Linked DNA regions of Homo sapiens: regions 1, 2, 3 and 4 are each linked to region 5. Evidence: promoter capture Hi-C in human tissues and cell types (Jung and others, 2019). All regions are on one chromosome and are shown on one strand. The core of a region is centred on a gene start or on the middle of the fragment in contact, and the rest is flanking DNA. Distances in the headings are between cores, read along the strand shown. Region 1 overlaps ZNF44 (zinc finger protein 44). Region 2 overlaps ZNF442 (zinc finger protein 442). Region 3 overlaps LOC124904638 (a long non-coding RNA gene). Region 4 holds the start of ZNF799 (zinc finger protein 799). Region 5 holds the start of ZNF700 (zinc finger protein 700).

What was found. The method cuts DNA at HindIII sites, captures the fragments that hold promoters and counts their contacts. A contact is called where the count stands out against the background at its distance.
Region 1: a contact is called between a fragment that was not itself captured here and the fragment with the promoter of ZNF700 in region 5, in 2 of the 25 tissues and cell types used here (lymphoblastoid cells and mesenchymal stem cells).
Region 2: a fragment that was not itself captured here is called in contact with the fragment with the promoter of ZNF700 in region 5 in 4 of the 25 tissues and cell types used here (bladder, dorsolateral prefrontal cortex, hippocampus and 1 more).
Region 3: a fragment that was not itself captured here is called in contact with the fragment with the promoter of ZNF700 in region 5 in 1 of the 25 tissues and cell types used here (lymphoblastoid cells).
Region 4: the fragment with the promoter of ZNF799 here is called in contact with the fragment with the promoter of ZNF700 in region 5 in 3 of the 25 tissues and cell types used here (heart left ventricle, mesenchymal stem cells and spleen).

What each region holds. Positions count from the first base shown.
Region 1 is chr19:12,275,542-12,278,241 of GRCh38, forward strand. ZNF44 (zinc finger protein 44) reads right to left here. Exons shown (of 4, transcript NM_016264.4): 2 at 415-541. Among named protein-coding and RNA genes, the nearest start is that of ZNF44, 18 kb to the right of the region's middle. The HindIII fragment of the contact is 9,813 bases long and covers 1-2,700 here.
Region 2 is chr19:12,344,526-12,347,225 of GRCh38, forward strand. ZNF442 (zinc finger protein 442) reads right to left here. Exons shown (of 6, transcript NM_030824.3): 6 at 1,419-2,700. It also overlaps a transcript of ZNF563 not described here. Among named protein-coding and RNA genes, the nearest start is that of ZNF563, 12 kb to the left of the region's middle. The HindIII fragment of the contact is 8,186 bases long and covers 1-2,700 here.
Region 3 is chr19:11,583,457-11,586,156 of GRCh38, forward strand. LOC124904638 (a long non-coding RNA gene) reads left to right here. Exons shown (of 2, transcript XR_007067140.1): 2 at 1-208. It also overlaps the pseudogene GAPDHP76. Among named protein-coding and RNA genes, the nearest start is that of ACP5, 7.2 kb to the left of the region's middle. RefSeq lists enhancers at 429-568, 579-638. The HindIII fragment of the contact is 7,524 bases long and covers 1-2,700 here.
Region 4 is chr19:12,399,900-12,402,616 of GRCh38, forward strand. It overlaps ZNF799 (zinc finger protein 799), which reads right to left and starts at 1,372. Exons shown (of 4, transcript NM_001080821.3): 1 at 1,169-1,372. The coding sequence starts at 1,171. RefSeq lists enhancers at 667-756, 1,477-1,526 and a silencer at 987-1,146. The HindIII fragment of the contact is 18,323 bases long and covers 1-2,717 here.
Region 5 is chr19:11,923,663-11,926,362 of GRCh38, forward strand. It overlaps ZNF700 (zinc finger protein 700), which reads left to right and starts at 1,445. Exons shown (of 4, transcript NM_144566.3): 1 at 1,445-1,611. The coding sequence starts at 1,549. It also overlaps a transcript of ZNF69 not described here. RefSeq lists enhancers at 1-141, 142-931, 1,088-1,660, 1,108-1,157, 1,208-1,317 and a silencer at 1,708-1,907. The HindIII fragment of the contact is 4,963 bases long and covers 1-2,700 here.

The sequences.
Region 1 (2,700 bases), core at 170-2,669, 350 kb after region 5:
GGAGGCTGAGGCAAGAATGGTGTGAACCCGGGAGGCGGAGCTTGTAGTGAGCCAAGATGGAGCCACTGCACTCCAGCCTGGGCGACAGAGCAAGACTCCATCTCAAAAAAAAAGAAAAAAAATTTACTTTCTCTAACTTACTTTATTCTGAGAATACAGTATGCAATACATATGACATATATGTGCTCGTCACTTGTTTATATGACTGATAAGGCTGCTGGTCAAAAGTAGGTTAAGCTGTGGCAGACAAAAGATTATATGAGGACATACAACAGGTTGGGGCCTGGCACTTCACCCTGTGTTGTTCAGGAATGAACTGTATCCCTTTTCCATATTTCAAATCACTGAACAGCATTGATGACCACAAAACAAATGTCTCTAATTGACCAAATGAAGACATGATGTCATCCATACCTATACAGTTCAGGTTCCTAATGGTTTCTCGCATCACATCTCTGTAGAGATTCTTCTGTGATGGACCCAGCAAAGCCCACTCCTCATGGGTGAAGTTCACAGCCACATCCTCAAAGGCCACTGAGTCCTGAAACATCCCATATGTCCAGAAAAGGAAGGTTGAAACTCACAGTACTGAGAACCTATACTCACCTTCATAAACTTCCCATGATGCTGTGGTTTCCAAGCATTTATTCAATGACGTGGTAAATCCACTCTTATTCTGTGTCTGCACTCACTGTCTGATGCTGGAATTCTGATGCTGGAATTGGGCTTGCTAAAATAACAGTTGAGTAGGAACATATCTCTTATTGGTGAATTATGCAAGTGAATCTTATTGCCTGGATTACTCCTAATGTCTGTTTCTACAGTGGGTCTGTAGTCCTTGTCATGACAAAGTCCTACCACCTACTGTGCAAAAGAGAGTTACAATTAGCAGTCCTGAGACGGCATATCCTTACAACTGCTTGTTCACAATGTTGAACCTTTCGTGGTGTCTAGACAATGTATTTAGGGGAGGGCCCCGTAAGCATAACTAATAAAGGGGGTGGAGTGTGCCTAAACTATTTGTGTAAAAATTATGGTATTTGCTTAACTCCTAACTTCCCTCTGAGAGTTTGGAATTGTATTACATCCTCAGCAGAGGAAGTGTACCCAATCAGCCACTGCTAGGTTTGAATGTCTTCCCCTCCAAAATGCAGGCTGAAACTGAATCTCCAATGTGGAAGTAATCAAAGGTAGTGGTTTAAGAGGTGAGTGGGTCTTGAGGGTTTGGAACACATGGATGGATTAATCCACTCATGTATGAATGGCTTAATAAATAAACTGGTTATCACAGATGAGGTTCTGGTGTCCTTATGAGAAGAGGAAGATACTTCAGCTAGACACTCAGCCCCCTCATCATGTAATGCCCTGTACCACCCAGGGACTCTACAGAGTCCCCATCAGCAAGAAGATTCCCACCAGATGCCCACTTTGACCTTACTTGATCTTCCCAGCTTTCAGAACTGCAAAAAATAAATATCATTTCTTATAGATTACCCCAGTTCTGGTATCCTGTTGTAAGTAACAAAAAAACAGTCTTATAGACTAAGACATACACAAAGAAACACTCTAGGCACAGGGTCCCTAATGTGCAACTCTGGTAGATGATATTTCATATTTTTGTTGTTGTTGTTTTTTCAATGTCTTACTTGGGGGATTTAGCCTATCCTACGTGATTACACAGAGAGAATATTTGGAAGCTGGTGACTGGTTCCCTGTAGATCAAATGTAGTTAAGTATGACAAAAGACTAATAAAAGAGATTTTACCAACTAAATAGAAAAAATTGTAACTTTCTACTGGGTAATGTCGAAGGAGAAAGAAAAGAAGAGGACAGACTGCAAATGTTCTTAGACAGAATTCAGTGTCAGCTTTCATGAATATCAATTATATTCCATAAATCTCAACAGCAGACATTTAATAATCAATAACATTACATAAACCAATTTTTATAGAAGTCATAAATGTCTAAAGATGCTTAAAAAAAACCTTCTCATCAAGAAAGTAGACAGCTTTACAAAAACAAACAGAAGATTTAAAACTGTAATTTTTCACATCCCATACTATTAACAGAGAGAAAAAGATACATAAACAGGAAAGTGAAAAATGATAGAAAAGCCTTGTATTGTTTTTTCTTTGGCCCCATCTCTGCCCATCTCATTGCCAGTCCTGAAGACAGCAGAGTTCCCAGTGTAGAACTCTGATCACCACAGAGTGTACAGATCACATTTTGTTTCCACATTATTGCCTTTGTATTTTTGAATCAGTCTGGGGACTAACCGAAGGTCTGAAACAAGGCTCTCTTTTCTATTTCATCTACAACAGAATCCAATCAGAGTCAAACTGGGCAGGAACTACTTTAAAATGTTGTAAAATACACAAAAAGTGTGCAACCACCTAGGACAACACAAGATGACTAAGACATACATTAGAAGGCCAGGTGTGGTGGCTCACACCTGTAATCCCAGTACTTTGGGAGGCCAAGGTGTTGGGAACAGGCCCCCAAATCTAGCCATAAACAAAATCTCTGCAGCACTGTGACATGCTCGTGATGGCTATGACGCACATGCTGAAGGTTGTTGGTTTACCGGAATGAGGGCAAGGAACACCTGGCCCACCCAGGGTGGAAAACTGCTTAAGGCGTTCCTGAACCACAAACAATAGCATGGGCCATCTGTGCCTTAAGGACAAGTTCCTGCTGCAG
Region 2 (2,700 bases), core at 46-2,545, 420 kb after region 5:
CCTTTTAAAAAATACATTTGATAAACCAGGAATGGAAAGAAACTTCCTTAATAGGAAAAAAGTCACATATGAAAAACCTGTAGGTAACATGGTCAATTTGAAAGACTGAAAGCCTTCCCTCTAATATCAAGAAGACAGGATGCCCACTTTCAACAGTTCTATTCAACATACTAATGGAAGTTATAGCTACAGAAATAAGGTAAGAAAAAGAAATAAAAGGAATCCAAATTGGAGAGAAAGAAGTAAAATTATCTGTGTTTACAGATTACATGATTCTATGTGGAGAAAACACTGAAGACTCCACAAGGGAAAAATAAAATTTTACAGCTTATAAAACAAATGCAGCAATGTTGCAGAATATAAAATCAATACACAAAAATCAGCTGCTAACAATGAATAAACAATAGACTAACAATGAATAAACAATCCAAAAAGAAAATTAAGAAAATAATTTTAGTTATAAAAGCATCAAAAAAAGTAAAACACTTAAAAATAAATGAAACCAAGAAATCAGTGATGTGTACATTGAAAACTACAAAACATTCTTGAAGCAAATTAAGGAAGATAAATGAATGGAAAGATATCCCATGTTCATGGATTCCAAGACTTACTATTGCTAAGATTAAAATACTACCAAAATCAATCTACAGAATCAATGTGATCCCTATAGAAATCCTAACAGCTTCTTATACAGAAATAGAAAAGCCTATTCTAAAATTCACTTCAAATCTCTAGGGATCTCTAATACCAAAACAATCTTGAAAAAGAACAATGTTGAAGAATTCACACTGCCTTATTTCAAAACTTACTACAAAGCTACAGTGATCAAAACAGTATGGTACTGGCATAAAGACAAACAGATAGGCCAATGGAATAGAGTAGACAGCCTAGAAATAAATGCTCATATACAGGGTGAAATGATTTTTGACAACAGTGCCAAGACCGTTCTTTGGTAGAAGGACAATCTTTCAAAAAATGGTGTTGGGAAAACTGGATATCTACATGCAAATAATAAAAGTGAACCATCACATTACATCATGTATAAATAGTAACTTATATTTAATCAAAGACCTATACTTAAAAGCTAAAACTATAAAATACTTAGAAGAGCCTGGGTACAGTGGCTCATGGCTGTAATCCCAGCACTTTGGGAGGCCGAGCAGATCACTTGAGGTCAGGAATTGGAGACCAGCCTGGCCAACATGGTTAAACTCTGTCCCTACTAAAAATACAAAATTTAGACAGGCGTGGTGGTGGGTGCCTATAATCCCAGCTACTTGACTACTTGGGAGGCTGAGGCATGAGAATCACTTGAACCTGAGGTGGAGGTTGCAGTAAGTCAAGATCATGCCTCTGCACTCCAGCCTGGGTGACAGAGGGAGAAAAAAAAATTACTTAGCAGAAAACATAGGGGAAAATTTTGTTAAATTTGGCAGTGATTTATTGGATACGACATTTAAGGCACAGACAACCAATAAAAGATAAACTGGACTACATCGAAATTAAAAACTTTTGCGCACCAAAGGACAATCTCAAGATGAAAAGAAAACCTACAGAAAGGGAGAACACATCTGCATATCACATATCAAATAAGGGCTTAATACCCACAGTGTATAAAGAATTCCTACAACTCTCTTCCAAGCACTTGGGAGCTGAAAAAAGAAAGAAATTTTCTAAATATTAAAAACTAAAAATTTTAAATAAGAATTCCTATAACTCAACAACAAAACACAAATGACTCAATTTTAATGAGCAAAGGATTTTAAAACAAACTGGTTCAAAAAATATATAAACAACCAACAAAAACAAAAACCAATGTGCATTATTATTGGTCATTAGGGAAATGCAAATCAAAACCACAATGAAAAAGCAGTACAGAACCATTAATTGGCTATTATGAAAAAAATACGACAACCAGTATATGTGACAATGTGGAAAATAGAAACCCTTATGCATTGCTGGAGAGAATGTAAAACATTGTAGCCACTTTGTAAAGCAATATACCTGTTCCTGAAAAAGGTTTACACCAATTATTCTGTGAACCAGCAATTACACTCCTAGGGATACATATATCCAAAAGAATTGAAAGCAGGGACTCACACAGACATAGACATACCACATCCACAGCAGCCTTATTGATAGCAGTCAAATTATTACTGTGGAAACAACCCATGTTTATCAACATAAAAATGGATAAACAAAGTATGCTTTAACCATACAGTGGAAATTTATTCAGACACAAAAACAATGAGTTCCTGATACATGCTACCACATGGATAAACCTTGAAAACGTTCTAAGTGAAATAAGCCAGACATGGAAGGACACATGCATACTTCCACATATCTCTCTCTCTATGAATAGTCAAATTCACAGACAGAGAAAGTAGAATGGAGATTTTCAGTACTTTGGGATAGGATGGAATAGGTAATTACATGTATGGAACACTAAGTAGATAGAGCAAGTAGCACAGTAACACGTATAAAATGATCCCTTCCTTTGTGTATTCTAGTTTGTACCAGCACTGTAAGAGGCTTCCAGATGAGCAGTTCCAGTGGTTAATGTTGGTAGTTCAAAGGGTAACACTGCCCTCTAGGCAACATCGTGGAGGTCTATTTGAGATATATTTCACTACAAGTTATTCTCATGAATACTTCAATGAAACAGCTCTTATCAAGGCCCCCAGTGACCAAATACTTGCC
Region 3 (2,700 bases), core at 200-2,699, 340 kb before region 5:
TGGTGTGATCTTCAGCTCGTCCCAACCTCCGTCTCCCAGGTTCAAGCGATTCTCCTGACCTCAAGTGATCCGTCTGCCTTGGCATCCCAAAGTGCTGGGATTACAGGCCTGAGGCCAGGCCCTGAATTAATTTTTTGATGTTTCACTTTGCCAGGTGTATAAGTAACATGTTAGTTGTGATTGTAACTAAATAAAGGCTTAAGGGAAACCGTGTTTCTAAATTTCTAAATTGACTACACATTTACAAAGGAACCCACAAAGATGGATTTTTGGGCCGGGCGCAGTGGCTCACGCCTGTAATCCCAGCACTTTGGGAGGCTGAGGCAGACAGATTGCCTGAGTTCAGGAGTTCAAGATCAGCCTAGGCAACAAGGTGAAACCCTTTCTCTACTAAAATACAAAAAAATTAGCTGGGCATGGCAGCGAGCACCTGTAATCCCAGCTACTTGGGAGGCTGAGGCCGGAGAATTGCTTGAACCAGGGAGGCAGAGGTTGCAGTGAGTCGAGATCACACCACCGCACTCCAGCCTGGGCAACACAGTGAGACTCGATCTTAAAAAAAAAAAAAAAAGATGGACTTTTTCGGGGCCCCAAGGCTTCAAAATTCAAAATGCTGTCATGAGTTAGTTTGATTTGAGGAACCAAAAATTGGCTTTTGTGGCTGGAGCAGAGTGAGCAAGGGGGAAGTGAATCCGGAAGGTTGAGTCTGCAAGGTCAAGGGCAAGGAACAGAGAAGGGTGTGGGTGGGGCAGGTTGCGTGTGCTCTTGGGGGCTGCAGGGAAGGGGGCTTTTATCTGGGTAAGGTGGGAGCCACAGAGGGTTCTGATCAGAGGGACAGATCTGACTTAGATTTTGCATGATGTCCCCCAGCTGTGGGCTGCGGGGCATGGGCTGCTGAATAGGTGGTTTAGGTGGGCAAAGATGGGTCATGGTGCCCCCTACCCTTTAAAAATTAAAAGACAGGGCCAGGAGCAGTGGCTCACGCCTGTAATCCCAGCACTTTGGGAGGCTGAGGTGGGCGGATCACCTGAGGTCAGGTGTTTGAGACCAGCCTGACCAACAAGGTGAAACCCCATCTCTACTAAAAATACAAAAAAAATTAGCTGGGCGTGGTGGCAGCCACCTGTAATCCCAGCTACTCGGGAGGCTGAGGCAGGAGAATCGCTTGAACCCGGGAAGCAGAGGTTGCAGTGAGCCAAGATCGTGCCACTGCACTCCAGCCTGGGCGACAAGAGCAAGACTGTCTCAAATAATAATAATAGGCCGGGTGTGGTGGCTCACACCTGTAATCCCAGCACTTTGGGAGGTTGAGGTGGGTGGATCACTGGAGCCCAGGAGTTTGAGACAAGCCTGGGTGACACAGTGAGACCCCATCTAAATTATTATTATTATTATTATTTGAGACAGAGTCTTGCTCCATCACCCAGGCTGGAGTGCAGTGGCGCGATCTTGGCTCACTGCAAGCTCCGCCTCCCGGGTTCACGCCATTCTCCTGCCTCAGCCTCCCAAGTAGCTGGGACTACAGGTGCCCGCCACCACGCCCAGCTAATTTTTTGTATTTTTTAGTAGAGACGGGGTTTCACCATGTTAGTAAGGATGGTCTGGATCTCCTGACCTTGTGATCCGCCTGCCTTGGCCTCCCAAGGTGCTGGGATTACAGGCGTGAGCCACCATGCCCAGCCTGAATTTTTTTTCTTAAAGATTAAAAAGGCAGAGCCTCTCTGCTCCTCCCATTTGACAGACAGCCACATCTTTTCATGCAGTGAAAAAGGCATGTCCCCGAGACACCGTGGTGAAAGTGAAGACAGGAGTAAATGGATTTGGCCATATTGGGTGCCTGGTCACCAGGGCACCAGAGCTGCTTTTAACTCTGGCAGAATGGATGTTGTCACCTCAATGACCCCTTCATTGACCTCAACTACATGGTCTACATGTTCCAATATGATTCTACCCACGGCAAGTTCCGCGGCACCATCAAAGCTGAGAAGTGGGCTGGGTGTGGTGGCTCATGCTTGTAATCTCAGCTACTTAGGAGGTTGAGGTGGGAGGATCACTTGAGACCAGGAGTTCAGGACCAGCCTAGGCAACATAGGGAGATCCTCTCTCTCTTAAAAAAAAAAAAAAAGAAAAGAAAAGACTGAGAAAGAGAAGGGAAGCTTGTCATCAATAGGAAATGGGAATCTCATCCCCATCTTCTAGAAGCCAGATCCCAGCAAAATCAAATTGGGTGACGATGCTGGCACTGGTTATGTCATGGAGTCCACCAGCAGCATCTTCACGACCATGGGGAAGGCTGGGGCTCGCTTAGGATGGGCAGCCAAAGGGATCACCATCTCTGCCCCCTCTGCCCATGCCCCCATGTTTGTGATGGACATGAACCATGAGAGATACAAAAACCTCATGATCGTCAGCAATGCCTCCTGCACCACCAACTGCTTACCCTCCGGCCAAGGTCATCCGTGACAACGTTTTTTTTTGGTTTGGTTTGGTTTTCTTTCTTTCTTTTTTCTTTTTTTGTTTTAAATAGGGATGGAGGCCAGGTGCAGTGACTCATGCCTGTAATCCCAACACTTTGGGAAGCTGCGGTTGGAGGATCACTTGAGCCTAGGAGTTCAAGACCAGCCTGGCCAACATAGCAAGACTCTGTCTCTACAAAAAGTTTAAAAAAATTATCCAGGCATGGTGGGGTGTATCTGTAGT
Region 4 (2,717 bases), core at 122-2,621, 480 kb after region 5:
TTAGCCTCCCAAGGTGCTGGAATTACAGGAATGACCCACCGTGTTCAGGAACCCAAAATAATTCTTTCAAGAAAAAGCCATACATTGCTAGCTGAAAACAAGATGACAAACTAGTGAAATATCGCCTGGGGGCCAAACAGTTCATACCGTTGCTGTGAATTAAGGACAGAAGGTTAGCCTGGGGAAGTCTCTGGAAACCAAGAGATTTGCTGCCAGCCCTAGGAGGAGTCAGGATGAGAGAACACAGTGGTGGATTTGAGACCCTGCTAACCACATCTTTGGAAGACTCAGAGGGGAAACGGTCGCCCTTGGAAAGAAAGAAGGGACTGAGGACCACGGAGACCACAGCTCCTCCCACACACAAACCCCACACACGAGTCTGGATTCCACCTGGTGACTCGTCGTCACCGTGCAGCCTCCTCACCGGGTTCACAGGAACTGCGAGCCAGGCTGGAGGCGAGATTGCAGTTAGATATTAACCAGGTGCCCTCAGCCCCGCTGCCTCAAGGGGCCGCCTCCCTGAGAGTCAGGTCACAGCAGACGCTGACCGCCGGCTTCCCCATTGTGCCTGGGGATAAGATCTCTGAGAACTGCTCAAGAGTCGCCGGAGTTCTCAGATCCTGAATCCCAGCAAAGGCTGGCGCCAATCAGGTTGAAGTCCCAACGAGGGAGCCCATTCAGCAGAATGCGGTTTCTTCACCTCCTGTCCCAGGATTCACCCCTCACTTCCCCACCAACCAACGACCCTACACCCAGCCGCCCCCGTCCAGACCCCAAATCCCTCAGGGAGGCGGATCTGGGGTGTCCTCCCCTCTCTGGCTATTAAACTGTTTCTGCTGCAGCCCTCAGCGTCTCGGTGCAGTGAGTCGGGCCGCGAACCTGTGTTGCTTACAGCCGCACAATCTCGGGAGACGCGAGGCTGCGGGCGCGGAGCTGCCCAGAGAGGGCGCCGGGGCCGCAGTCGCCGCGCAGGAACGGGACAGGACGCCCGGGGTCCCGGCTGCATGCCCAGCCCCACCCTGCGGCCGAGGGCCGACCTACGCCAGGGGAACCCGGGTCCGTAGATCCCGGAGTAGCCCTTGGGGAGGCCCGGGTCCAGCCACAGCCGATTACTGCAGGTTCCACCCAGCCCCTCCCCCGCCTCGGGACGCCGGCCCAGCACACGCACCATTTCCCGACTTCCGCGGTGTCCCAGGTCCTCCGGACGGCTCCCGCTGCCAATGCGGGTTCCCGCGGGACACAGGCTGCCACGGAACTTCCAGGTCGTCTCTTAGCTACAGAGCCGAGCACCGAGCGCCCAGCGCAGGTGGGTGGAGAAGACGCCGCGGGCTTTTTCAACCACACACTCCTCTGGGAAGCGCGCCTGATTGACAGTTCCCACGAACCCGCCCCACGGCCCTTACTGGATACGGCGTCAGGTGCCGCCCCTCGTGGACTGATTGACAGAAGAAGCGATCTTGCACAGCTGAGTGGAGCCAGATGAGCAAGTTCCTGACACAGCCCTTGGCAGGGCGGGCTTCCTCCCTGCTCTTTGATCTGAATCCTCCCGAGGGATATTTGCACTTAAGCGGAATTTCCTGCCTGTACTCAATAGGACCTCCTGCTTCTTCCTCCTGTACACTGACTGACAAAACAATTATACTTTTTTTTTTTTTTTTTTTTTTTTTTCCGAGAGAGAGAGAGAGAGAGAGAGAGAGAGAGGGAGTCTTGCTCCGTGGCTCAGGCTAGAGTGCAATGGTGCGAGGCTCACTGCGACCTCCGCCTCCTAGGTGGGTTCAAACAATTCTGCCTCAGCCTCCCGAGTAGCTGGGATTACAGGTGCGCGCCACCACACCCGGCTAATTTTTGTATGTTTTAGTAGAGGCCGGGTTTCACCATGTTGGCCAGGCTGGTCTCGAACTCCTGACCTCGTGATCCGCCCACCTTGGCCTCCCAAAGTTCTGGGATTAGAGACGTGAGCCATCGCGCCTGGCTCCAATTATACTCTTTTTCAATGAAATTTTTCAAAATATTTCAATGTACAATTAAATTATTTTTTACTATAGTCACTCTGTTGTGCTAGCAAATACTAGGTCTTATTCATTCTTTGTAACTATTTTTTATACCTATTAACCATCCCCACTTCCCCCATAACTACTCCTCGCTACTACTTTTCCCAGCCTGTGGTAACCATCCTTCTACACGTTTTTGGTTGTTTGAGATGGGGTCTTGCTCTGTTGCCTAGGCTGGAGTGCAGTGGGGCCATCATGGCTCACTGCAACCTCTACCTCCCAAGCTCAAGCAATCCTCCCACCTCAGCCTCTCAAGTAGCTTCAGATTGTTCACTGTTGGCATATAAAAATGTTACTGATTTTTGTATGTTAATATTGTATCCTGCAACTTTACTGAATTTATTTCTCAGTTCTAATACTTTTTTGGTGGAGTCTTTAGGTATTTCCAGATATAAGATCATATTATATGCAAACCAGGATAATTTGACTTCTTCCTTTCCTTCCCAATATAGATGCCCTTTATTTCTTTTTTTTTTTTTTTTTGGACTTATTGCTCTAGCTGGGACTTCGAGTACTGTGCTGAACAACAGTGGTAAAAGTGGGCATTCTTATTGTGTTCCAGATCTTACAGGAAAGGCTTTCAGTTTTTCCTCATTCATTATCATGCTAGCTGTGGGTCTGCCATATATGGCTTTTATTATGTTAAGGTAGCTGCTTCTATACCCA
Region 5 (2,700 bases), core at 195-2,694:
GCCCTTAAGTTATCTTAGATTTTTCCTCCCCCACTTTATACATAAGCATAGGAGGAGAGCAGGGACTCTGCTGGTGTCTTATTTACACAATGGGATTGAAGGTGTTTGTCTCGCGAAACTAATCGATGGGGTGAGAAGTAGCTGAATAACCTGCAGGGGGCAGCAGAGCCCAAGGCCAGTGATTCCACGTTGAGGACAGTCTCTGCAGCCTGCAAAGGGAGGGAAAGAGAGTTTCCCTGGGGGCTTCGCGGGCAGCCCACCCCCTTCTACAAGTGGCCTCCAGCTGCTCAGAGCAGCTCCAGAAAGGGTGTGGATTCCGAGAAGCTGCAGAGCCCTGGAAAGCAGAAGACCCATGTGCAGACGCATTTGTGGCGTCTCTGTCCTTTCTGGTGTTGTACCTCTGGAGCTGTCTTCTGGGCAGGGTTTGGGGTTTGACATGCATGGGGTCGTTGGGGTCAGAGTTATTTGTATAGATAAAGAAAATGTGTGGCCGGGCGCGGTGGCTCACGCCTGTAATCCCAGCACTTTGCGGGGCCGAGGCGGGCGGATCAAGAGGTCAGAAGATCGAGACCATCCTGGCTAACACGGTGAAACCCCGTCTCCACTGAAAATACAAAATATTAGCCGGGCGTGGTGGCGGGCGCCTTTAATCCCAGCTACTCCGGAGGCCGAGGTAAGAGAATGGCGTGAACTCGGGAGGCGGAGCTTGCAGTGAGTCGAGATCGCACCACTGCACTCCAGCCTGGGCTACAGAGCAAGACTCCGTCTCAAAAAAAAAAAAAAAAAAAGAAAGAAAGAAAAGAAAATGTGTGAAGATCAGGCTAGAGCTAGAGACAGAATTGTTTGGTGGCGTCACCTGGATAAAGGGTTCATGAAGTTGACAGTTTACTTAGGTCAGAAACAAAACCTGGTGAGAGTTTCCTGCTGGTGAAAATGAAGATCTGAAAGGAGGAAGCATTTTCACAAGGGGATGGGGGTGTGTGAGCAAGGCTTGGCCACGCCTCATCCCCAATTCCGGCCCGCTCGAGGACATATGCCTCTCCTCCTGGTGCAGTCGTGCCTGGCCTGGTCTCGGTTCCCCTGCTGCTCTGAGGCCAGCAGTTGGCTCCTATGGACACTGAGTCTGAAATTCCCTGCACACTCCTGTGACCCCGTGCAGAACGAAGGAGCGGGGACTGTCCCTTGAGTGAGGATGACGCTAGTGTTCTCTTCTATCAATAGCAAGTTTGGCTGAAATGCAAATATCCAATAACCAGAGTGCAGAAAGCAGCTCGCCCTTAGAGAAGCTGTGGCTAGAATCCGTCAGTCTGGCTCTGCGGGGCCTGATACCCAGGGCTTCAGCTGTCACTCAGATGTGGGGGGCGGGACCTAGTATTTCATCCAATCAGAGGTGCTGGGGCGTGGCACTGCCCACAGTTCATCCGGAAATGGAGGGGGTCGCTTTCCTCACCTTCCTCGCTGCGCGGGCGGCGGTTGGTAACCGGTCAGACCAGCCCGAGAGGGACCTGGTGCCTGTACCCAGGCTTCTGTCGCTCTGTCGCCTGCGCTATGCCCTGCTGTAGTCACAGGAGCTGTAGAGAGGACCCCGGTACATCTGAAAGCCGGGAAATGGTGCGTGTGCGGGACCAGATGTCGTGAGACGGGGGAGGGGCTGCCTGGAACAGGCGGGAACCGGCTGTGGCGGGACCCGGGCCTCCCTGTGGGCGACTCCGGGGTCTGGGACCGAGTCCTCCTTGAGCAGTTCGGCCCTCGGTCCCCTTGGCCGCTGGACGGGGCTGGGCCAGCAGCCAGGACCCGGGCGTCCTGTCCCGTCCCTGCGCGGCGACTGCGGCCGCGGCCCCTGCCCCGGAGCCCTCTCTGGGCAGTTCCGCTCCCGCAGCCCCGCGTCTCCCCAGATTGTGCGGAAGCAACGGGAGGGTCATGGAGGCATCCTGACTCGGGTGTGGGGTTCGTGCGTGGGAGGAGCAGTGGTCTGTGGGGCCCCCAGTCCCCACTTTCTCCTGTTAAAAATTAAACTGAGGTACGTTAACAATTAAAGAGTTCATTTGAGCAAACAGCGATTCACGAATGAGAAACACCCCGTCCTGGGTTGTGGTTTGTCAACGGAAAAAGCCAAACTATGTAAAATAAAGAAGTTTATTCAGAGCCGAATAGGAGAGACCTTGGCCGAGGGAAACACAACCCCAAGCAGCCTGGAGTAAGTGGTCCCGAGGCGGCTCAAGACAGTTTGGTTTTATTCATTTCAGAGAGACAGGAATTGCAGGGAAAATGATGAATCAGTGCCTGAAAGGTGTAAGTTCCATTGGCAGAAAGGGTGGGACCTGTGGAAGGGGGGTTAGAAGGCACAGGTGGTTGAGGGATTCTGTAGGTGGCAGCTGGTTGAGAGTGTGAAGTTTGTCTAAAGTTTGGAGGAGGTAGGAAGGAAGGGGGTCTGTTATCTGCCACTTGATTCCATCCCAGCCAGAAAACAGACCTGTTTCTCTAGATTTTATGAATTCTGAGGCGTGACTTTACTTTTGCCTTGCGTGGCCTTAGGTTTTGTTTGTAAGTTAGTATCTTCTTGCCACAAGCAGTCTGTTTTTCCATTCTATCTATTTTTACATGAATGTGTGGGAGAGGGTATAAGGAGACCTGTCTCACCTCCCATCCTGTCATACAGAGGCACTCAATTTTCAGGGTTTTTTGCGGGTCCTGTTGGCC